3 separate regions of the Homo sapiens genome follow, and regions 1 and 2 are each linked to region 3. Evidence: promoter capture Hi-C in human tissues and cell types (Jung and others, 2019). All regions are on one chromosome and are shown on one strand. Each heading gives the region's core, a stretch centred on a gene start or on the middle of the fragment in contact. The rest is flanking DNA. Distances are from core to core; before and after follow the strand shown. Region 1 overlaps SERGEF (secretion regulating guanine nucleotide exchange factor). Region 2 has its middle 42 kb from the start of LINC02729. Region 3 holds the start of KCNC1 (potassium voltage-gated channel subfamily C member 1).

What was found. The method cuts DNA at HindIII sites, captures the fragments that hold promoters and counts their contacts. A contact is called where the count stands out against the background at its distance.
Region 1: a contact is called between a fragment that was not itself captured here and the fragment with the promoter of KCNC1 in region 3, in 3 of the 25 tissues and cell types used here (aorta, dorsolateral prefrontal cortex and pancreas).
Region 2: a fragment that was not itself captured here is called in contact with the fragment with the promoter of KCNC1 in region 3 in 2 of the 25 tissues and cell types used here (lymphoblastoid cells and pancreas).

Annotation. Positions count from the first base shown.
Region 1 is chr11:17,807,260-17,810,437 of GRCh38, forward strand. All of the region lies in intron 10 of SERGEF (secretion regulating guanine nucleotide exchange factor), which reads right to left. Among named protein-coding and RNA genes, the nearest start is that of KCNC1, 74 kb to the left of the region's middle. The HindIII fragment of the contact is 5,619 bases long and covers 1-3,178 here.
Region 2 is chr11:17,653,132-17,656,253 of GRCh38, forward strand. No RefSeq gene overlaps it. Among named protein-coding and RNA genes, the nearest start is that of LINC02729, 42 kb to the right of the region's middle. The HindIII fragment of the contact is 4,261 bases long and covers 1-3,122 here.
Region 3 is chr11:17,732,936-17,736,030 of GRCh38, forward strand. KCNC1 (potassium voltage-gated channel subfamily C member 1) reads left to right here and starts at 1,846. Exons shown (of 4, transcript NM_001112741.2): 1 at 1,846-3,095. The coding sequence starts at 3,068. RefSeq lists a silencer at 1,686-1,785. The HindIII fragment of the contact is 8,281 bases long and covers 1-3,095 here.

The DNA.
Region 1 (3,178 bases), core at 190-2,689, 74 kb after region 3:
GCTTTATCCCTGATGAGCTGCCCCGGCAGTGCCATGCCAGGCTGCTTGTGGAATCTTCCTCAAAGAACTCCCCCCCCACAAAAAAAATTCACCAAAACCCATGCAACAACAACACAACCCATTAATGGACAAGCAACTGCTGAGCACTGGTGCCAAGGTTCAGCTCCTATAAACATACTTTGGGCCACTCACCTGGTCCCTTTACTGATAAGGAAGCCAGGCCCTGGCTGTCTGCACTGTGGCTCACCCAGGGGGTAATGCGGTTTTTAGCTGGCTCAGCCAACGAAGCAGGCTGTCCCCAACTCCAGCCCCCAAATTACCACTTCTCTTGTTTGATGCCGCCAACCAGGGATCTGCCGGCGTGGACCCTGGCAATTAGCACAGCACTTGCATTTGTTGGGGAATTAGGAGCCACTGATTACCCTAATTCCACGTCATTTACAGGCAATGAGTGTCAGCCTGGGATTGGCCTTTCCAAATGGTGGCCTACAGGGTGGCATGATCATGACTTGACTTTGAAATGGAAGCAAGGGCCTGGTAAGCCAGGCTGTGAACCAGGAGGGGAGGCAGGACTCATATCTGAGCCTAGCTATATGGCAGCCATTGCCTCCCCCAGTCCTGCCCACTTAAGGGAAATGAAGACCAGAACAAGGTGTTTCCAAATTGAGAACATGCCAATTTCTAAGTCAGTCCTGACCCAGGAAGAGAGCCCATTTCCCTTTGATAGCCCTGCTGACCCCCTAGAATGTGCAGCCACAAGATTAGTGTCCCCTAATCTGAGAGTTTCTTGGGGCTAAAGGCCTGAGTCAAACTCTTACTGGCTGAGCAGGACCCTCACACTCTGCCTAGGCTCTCCTGACATCCCACTACCAAGGGCCTGAACTTCTTATCTGTCCTCCAAGTTGCTGCCTGGCTTGGGCCCCTTGGAATGTGAATGTGCAATGTATTAGTCCGTGCTTGTGTCGCTACAAAGAAATGCCTGAGGCTGGATAATTTATAAAGAAAAGAGGTTTAATTGGCTCACAGTTCTGCAGGCTCTACAGGAAGCGTGGTGCCAGCATCTGTTTCTGGTGAGGGCCTCAGGAAGCTTCCAATCATGGTGGAAGGCAAAGGGGGAGCAGGCACATTGCATGGTGAAAGCAGGAGCAAAAGAGCGAGCAGGGGGAAGTGCCATGCGCTTTTAAACAACCAAATCACACATGAACTCAGAAAGAGAACTCACTTATAACCAAGGAGATGATACAAAACCACTCAAGAGGGATCTGCCCTCATGATCCAATCACTTGCCAACAGGCCCCACCTCCAACATTGGAAATCACATTTCAACACGAGATTTGGAGGGGACAAACATCCAAGCCATGTCACCCAATGATAATTACCTTAAGACGCTTGCTGTCAGACCCCTGGTCACAAATGGGCCCTCCAGGATAGTGACATTTCCAGGATAATATAGGCCCCTACACCTTGTATGACTGATCCCTATCTCAACCCAGCAGGGGCCAACTTCGTAGCTAGTATTCCCCATATTTCTACCCTTTCCTGCCAGTTTGCTGTAAGAGGAGCCAATTGGCTTGTATACACTTTATAGGGTCATGACCATGTGGAGCCAGCTAACTGAATACTTGTCCATTAGAGAACTTCTGGATCTCTCCAAAGGAATATATAGGTATTGGGGTTTGGCTGGACAAGTCCTGACAACTCCCTAATTCAAACTCTAGGTTCCTTGAAAATAGGGGGCTAAACCCGGTCTTTCCAGTCATTCATAAAATGTCTATTTTGTCTTACTTGGTAGATATCATAAGGGATATAAAATGAACCATTCATGGCACCTGCTAGCAAGGAATAAATAATCTGAGGGATCAGAAGAGACTTCCTGGAGGAAGAAGAAAAGTTAGGGGAGAGGGAAGAAAGAGCATTCTAAGTAGATAGAACAGTGGGAACAAAGACCTAGCTGGGGGAAGGAGGGGATTGCAAAGATAATGGTGGTAGTTCCACTTGGTGGAAGAAGACGTGGTGCAAAACATAGCAGAAGGAAAGAAATTTGGGATGATAAGTACGGGGCATATGGCAGATGGCTCAAGAAATATAATCCTCAAAAAGCCTGACTAAAGATTTTGGACTTTATTTCATAGCCAATTGGAAGCCACTAAGGCTTTTGGACAACAGAGTAGCAGAATCAGATCTGTGCCTCAGAGGCAAAATCTGGCATAATAACAATCATCAATATTGTTCTTGCCATCATGACAGATCACATTTAGGATGCACTCACACGATGCCAGGCACTTTTCTAAACACTTAGACTGAGTGGGAAGGAGGGTCTAAGGGAGATCATTTGGAGGTGGAGGCAAAGTCTAAGAGGAGGAGGACAAACAAAGCCTGAGCTGTCTCAGTGGCAGTGGGACGCAGAAGAGGGCAGGACGGAGAGAAAGCAAAGAGGTGGGACCAAGAGGACTTGGCATCTGTGAAGCTGTGGGTACAGAGGGGTGAGAGGAGTCAGATAGCCTTAGCCAGGAGACTAGGAGGATGGAAGTCGCAACCAGGTCTAGGATATGTGATTCCTTGATTCACAGTCCTGGTAGATGAATCTAGAATCCAACCCCAAGGATATGGCCAAAATATCCCTTGTCACCCTGAGTTCAGGAAAACATTTGGGGAGGAACAGACCATGAAACAAGGGCAGCTGTCCCAGGAAGATTTATTCTCCCACACTGTGCCCTGCTCCTACCAACCTAGTACCTGCTGGTTGGAGTGAGAAGGAAAGGACCTGGAGAGAAGTGGCCTCTCTTTCTTTGACCCTAGTGTATTCTTGGTGGAGGTCTTCTGTCATGATATGCATCAGACTAGGGTCCCCATTTAGGGAGAATGCCCTGGTTCTAACCTGCCTTATTTCTCTGTCCTTAGGTATCACTGGGGTGGCCCCAAGCCCCTGAGGATTAGGGCCCTCAGATGGAAGGCAACAGCTGCCTGCTCTGATATTTCTCTCACTTCTTGTATCCCACACAAACCCTGTGCTCTGGTCAGAAGGGCTTCCCACACTCTGCCCTCAGCCTGGGATCTGTCTATCCTCACACCTCCCCATCCCGCAATCAGGAATGCCCTTATCCTGGGCTAATCCAAATCCTAGCCTAGCCTTCAAGGCTCAGCTCAAGTCCTCCTTCCTCTAAAATGTCTACAACAA
Region 2 (3,122 bases), core at 374-2,873, 80 kb before region 3:
CTGGCCTATGGTAGGCATTTAATAAATGGAGCTATTGTTTCCACTATGAACCTTCTTTCCTAAACCTTTAGGAATATCTTTAAACTCCTCCTTTTCAGGATTAGGAAACTGATCCCAGGGAATGACAGTGACTCACCCAGAGTCTCACTGCAAAGTGAGCAATGGTGGAGGCAGCGCCAGACTCCAAACCGAGTGCCCATTCCATTGCCTCTGCCAGAGAATCTTCCCTGAGCTCCAACCTAGGGTGGGCCTCCCTGTGCTGACCTTACAGCCTCTACTATCTGAGTCGCCCACTAGGCCTTCCAAAAGCCCTGTCTCTATCTGAGACAGGAAGTTCCCAGGTAGGACCCAAGCCCCCCAGCAGAAACTATCACCTAGCTGGATCCTTTTCAAGGTGTAGATACCCAGCTAGGGAAGCTTATTTCTCAAGGGGTTTCCCGGGACTTGGCTAAGCTGGGTGACATCAACTTCCCAATGGAGGGGAGAAAGAAATAAGAGAGGGAAGGGTTAAGGCTCAGCAGCTGGGACAGGCAGCCTGCAGACGGCCCAGCCCAGTGCTGGGGGGCCTGCACCATTCCATTCCTTTGCAGATCAGTTACACCCAGCTGTCTCCCTCCCCACTGCCAGCACCCCTCGGATTAGGCGGGAAAGGCTCCCCGGCCTGCGGCCTGCACACGGCCCATGGGGAACAGCGCCTGCAGCCCACGCCTCCACGACAGCTGCTGAGTGTCAGGCAAGAACATAGATCAGTGGGATCCTGGCAGAGGTGCCCTAAGCCCAAGCCCTGCCCCCAGCATGTGCAGGAGGGGCTGCCCGAGAAGAAAGGGGGTCTGTGAGGGATTTGGGAGGTACAGGGCAGAAATTGCTCCCAAAAATATCTCCTCTGCCCATGTGTCACTGTGCCTCAAATTCCACCATTAAACATCTTAAAAGTTTGGGGCTTCCAGAGACACCAATTAAAAACTACACCCCATGGAGTAGCTGGCATTTTGATGCACTGTTGATAGGAATGTATTTGTAAAATTTATGAACATTTAATTTTATTTTACAAAGTATATATGAAGTCCCTCAAAAATATCTTTTCCTTTTTCTCAGTTGTCCCACTGAGGGCTTTAACTTAAAGAGGAACTTAACTTAAGGACATAGTTTATAATATGGAAAGAATGTGGGCTGGAGTCTTAAGATTAAGAGAAAACACAAACTAAGGTCATGAATACTCTCAAAATACTCACAAAAGCCAGATGAAAAAAACAAAAGAAATTTTAACACTAGAAAATATCTGTGCCTGTACCGGAAAACATGAAACAGTTCCACCAATAGGTCAGAAATAGGAAATTTCTTGAAGTTATAAAGCAAATGGGAGGCAGCATAGTGTATAGGTAGAAAGATGGTCCAGACTCTAATCCTGGTTGCTTTACTCACGAGTTCTGTGATGTTAGCAAATTACTGAACCTCCCTGAATTTCAGTTTCCTCAACTGTAAAGTTGGAACAGTAATTACAATAACTGTGAGAAATACATGAAGATTAGAGGAGATCATTTTTGGTAAATATCCCTGTGATTCCACCATCAGAGGACCGTGACCATAGAAATCACCATCAACTATGAGTGAATGGTTATGGTATGTCTCCTCCAGCCACTTGCCTACATAGCTGCTAAGAAAACCCTCACAGTACCAATTCTAATTAATCCAGAATTTTATTATACATATTACCAGCCAGTTAAAACTCATTATTTGAAAAGAATGGACAATGGCAAAATGGTGCCCAAGTTGAAATGGCAGGGTAACTTACCCTCAATGAAAAGTCAATCAATTCAAGGAAGAGGAAAAGCATGAACAGTATTCTAATTAATATTCCCAGGATGATCCATGAGGATATTGTATCTAAAAAATAGGAGGCTAATAAAGTACAATCAGAAAAAAAAGTTTCTAGAAATTAAAACCATATATAACTTCTACTTCCATCACACAGAGTACCTGGTATTCAACCTACCCTGCAATTATAAACAACTAGAAAATTGGTGAAAATACATGACATACATGTTTCCAGACGTGGGCAACAGGCAGTGCAAGGCTAGGATCCCGCAGAGAAGGGAAATAGGTGAAGAATTAATAAATCTTACTAGAAAGTTCCAAATTCTGCCTGGATAATTTTCTGGAACAAGAGACAGGGAAGGGCATGTCCCAGCAGAGCAGGGTGGTCTCGCTGAGTTGAAGACAGATCAAATTCAGGCAGTCTGAGGCAACTGAAATATGTGGGGCAGAATACCAGAGATGAGGGAGCCATGTAGAAAAAGAACTCCAGAAAGTTGCATATATTAAGGCTGTGGTTGAACATTAAGGTGCACATGTGTAGGCTGAATATCCATAAAGACAGGTGAAGAACCAGTGGGTAATTGTAAACTGAGAAATTCTTGGAGCTTTTGCAGAGCTGAGAGACATTACATTTCTTACCAGCCAAAGTGAAAAGACCTCACTGAACATCCCGGGACTTAATTGAGCTTCCAGAAATGGTCATACTTTAGAAGAAGGATTAAACTACACCTAGAGTAAAGGCTACCCTAAAGAAGCCCTAATTAAGCTTTGAAAAAAGCCTCAAATTGACCATGCTGACACACAGTAGCTATAAGACATAAGAAAGTCTAAATATTCTTTAAGGGAAAAAATACAGACATTCAGCAACATACTATTAATAATGCCTAGAATCCAATTAAAATTACTAGACATGCAAAGCATCTGGAAAACGTGACCCATAACAAGGAGAAAAAAACAGTCAATAGAAACAGACCTAGAAATGACAAAGATGATGATATTAGCAAACAAGGGCTTTTAAGTAGCTATTATACATATGCTTAAGAATGTAAAGAAAAACATAAGCATAATGAAGACAGAAACGGGAGATATTTAAAAAAATAAAATAGTCTAGAGATGAAAATATAAAGTTTTAAGTGAAATGAGATTAACAACAGATTAAAGAGTGCCAAATAAAAGATCAGTGAACTTGAAGATGTAACAAGAGGAACTTTCCAAAATGAATTACAGGGGCCAGGCGTGGTGGCTCATGCCTGTAATCCCAGCACTTTGGGAGGCCAAGGTGGGTGGATCACTTGAGGTCAGGAGTT
Region 3 (3,095 bases), core at 596-3,095:
ATGTGTCTGCCTCTGTGTCCACCTTTTTCTCTTCCTTCTGGATTCTCCATTTCTATTTCATCTTCTACCAATGTTGGGACAGAATTTCCTGAGAACCCATGTCCCGGGGATCTGAATATGGGCCAGGATGGGCCACACCAGGCCGGGCCACACCAGGCCAGGCTTCCTTGTGGTTAGGAGATGGGGACTCACACTGGTCAGGGTGAAAGGGACACTCAAAATCACTCTCATCCCTGCATTACTCTGAGATTGAAGGGGAAACAGCTCCTATTTAGAGGAATCACACAGATCAATATCTGGAGGGAGGAGGTGCCATGCAGGCCCCAAAATCCAACCCTCTCTTTGTCTCTGCCCAACTCTGCCCATTTCTGACTTAATTTAGCCTCTCTGTCTCTCCCCTTGTCCTATTCCCATCTGTCAATCCTTGCCCTGCCCCTCTCCACCCCTTCAAGCCTTTTACCCACCACACACAGATTTTCCTGTGGCTAGATTGGGATTCCCCTGGCCAAGTAAGGAGAGCGATGTCTGTGGCACAGCTTTGTCCCCAGGCTCACAACGGCATCTGTGGGTCAGGGTAGAGGGACAGCTGTCTGCACAGTTAGAAAGTGCCAGCAGTAATAAAAGCCTCATATCTTCTTAATTAAATCGCCCTTTGCCCAGGCATCCTGTGTTCGATTGGGTTGAGCTGGGATCAATAAGCCTCTTTCCCACCCCAGCCACCCCTGGAGACGGGCCTGACCTCCCCAGTCCTGCCTAGGCCCACCTGGCCACCTCCCCAGAAGGCTGGGAGCTTCTCAAGGCCAGAGGCTGGGTCAGATTCATCTCTTGTGTCCTTGTGCCTGGGACGGATCCTGAAACAAGTAAGGAGTAAAGGAGTGATTGCTTTACTGAGTAAACCAAGGCACTAGCAGCAGGCATGGGCCAGGAAGGCTTTGAGGTTCAAACTGGAACTCCCACCCCCAGGACCAACTGTGAAGATGGAGGAATCACAGCAAGCAGCAGCTCCCACCCAGCTCCCAGACATAACACCAGCTTATCACCCAGGGCAGTTGAAGCCCTAGGAAGTGCGGGGTGGGGGTGTCAGTGCTCAGGGAAACTACGAGCAGTTGCTGCTTCTGACCTCTGAGGGCAGAAGGTCCTTTTCATAAGGGGTCTCCACCTAGGGATCCAGGGTTAGTGTGGGAGAGTCCGTGAGCTTGGATGGATGTGGCACTCATGGGAGACTCCCTCTGTCTGAAGCTATAAAGGGCCCAGGGTCAGTAAGGAGTCCAAAGGGGTTAATAGGGGTCCAGGATTGATTGTTAGTGGAGGGCGTAGAGGATAACGTGGTGTGTGTGTGTGTGTGTGTGTGTTGGGGTTCATGCAAGACATTACCCATGGAAGGAACATGGGGCCTCCAGGTTCCGCGAGAAGGGTCGGTATTAAAGGATTCCTTGGAGCGGTCAGCACTGGTCCGGGCCAGGGTGTCTCTGATGACAAAACTCCGGGAGAGCTTTGTCTCACCAGGGATCAGATGGTCCCTGGTTTGGAAGGCAAGGGGAGGGTGCCAACGCCCTTCTCACCTCAGTCTGACCCGGGGGCGCGGGCCCAGACGTCTCTCGGAGCCCCCGCCCCTGGAGTGGCGTTCCCCGAGGGCGGACCGTGGGCGGGTCCCCCGGGAGCAGCAGGAGCCGCGCGGGGCGGGCGCCCCCAGCGCCGAGGTTGAGGGAGGCCGGGCTCGGTGCGGGGCTGGGAGGGGGGCGCGGAATCAGGGCTTTTTAGGACCCAGCGCGGCGCCTTCCTCCGGGGGCGAGTGCGGCTGCGCGCGCCGTGTGCCCGTGTCCGGAGAGCGGCGGGCTGGACGCGGACCGCGCGAACGAGCAGGCGACGGGCGAGCAGCAAGCGGAGCAGCAGCCCGGGCGGCAGCAGCGTCGCGGCGGCGGCGGCAGCGGCCGCTCCGCGCCTCGCCTCACCGGCCTCGCTGGCCTCACCTCGCCGCGCCCGGACCCGCCACCCCCGCCTCCCCGCCCGACCTCCGCAGCCCCCGTCTCGGCCGGCAGCGCCCACCGCCTGCCCGAAGCGAGGAGCGGAGTGCGGGGCGCAGAGGCACCGGAGCCAGTGCCCGCCGGCCCCGCAAATCAAACCCAGCCAGGAGAACCCCCGCCTGGCCCCGTGCAGCTCCGCGACCGCCGGGAGCTGTCCCTTCAGCACCGCCGCGGGAGCCCAAGTCCGAGCGCAGCCCAGCGGAACCCCAGCTCGAGCCCGGGCTCACGGAGAGCAGCGCTCGGCGTTAGCCGCACGAGCAACACCCCGGGTGCCCCTGCCCAGGGGGCCCGCCATCTCCTCCAGGAGGCGGGGAGAAGGAACGAGGAGGGCGGGCGGGCAGGCGGGCCCGCCGCCGGGGGGAGCAGGCAGCCAAGCAAGGAGAGAGGGAGGGGGCCGGAGCCCGCCCTGCGTCCCGAGCTGCAGCCCGGCCACGCAGGGAGGAAGGCAGGCGGCATCCATCTCCCCCGCGCCGAGAGCGCGCCGCGGCGACCACCTCACAGAGGAGCGCGAATTTCCCGGCCCTGTCTCCTCCCCTCCCCCTCCTGGGGGCTGGCCTCTAGTCCGGCCCCGGGAGCGGCTGACCTTTCCCCCAAAAGCTTTGTGCCGATTTCTCCATTTTCCCGCGGAGATGGGGACGGGAGCCCGGCCCCCCAACCCATTTTCCCCACCTCCCGGGGCTCGCTGCTGAGCCCGCCCCCCTCCCTCTTTCCCCCTCACTCCCTCCCTCCCTCCCTTTCTCCCTCCCTTTCTCCCTCCCTTCTTTCCTCCTCTGCCTCCTCCGCTGCCGGACCAGCTCCCTCCCACATCTGGCTCCTAGAGACCCCTGGGATCCCGCGCACATTCCCCTGGACCGGCACCCGACAAAGCGCCCGGAGAGGCTTGGCTCGCTCGTTGGGGTGGCCAGAGCCGCAGGCCTCTGTTCCCCCCGACGGCTGGGGGGAGGGGGGAAGAGGGCGCGCGCCCCCCTCCCCGGCGCCAACTCCCCCTGGCGGCCGCTCCCATGGGTGTCGCTGGGCCGCGCCATGCCTAAGGGGGCGCCGCGATGGGCCAAGGGGACGAGAGCGAGCGCA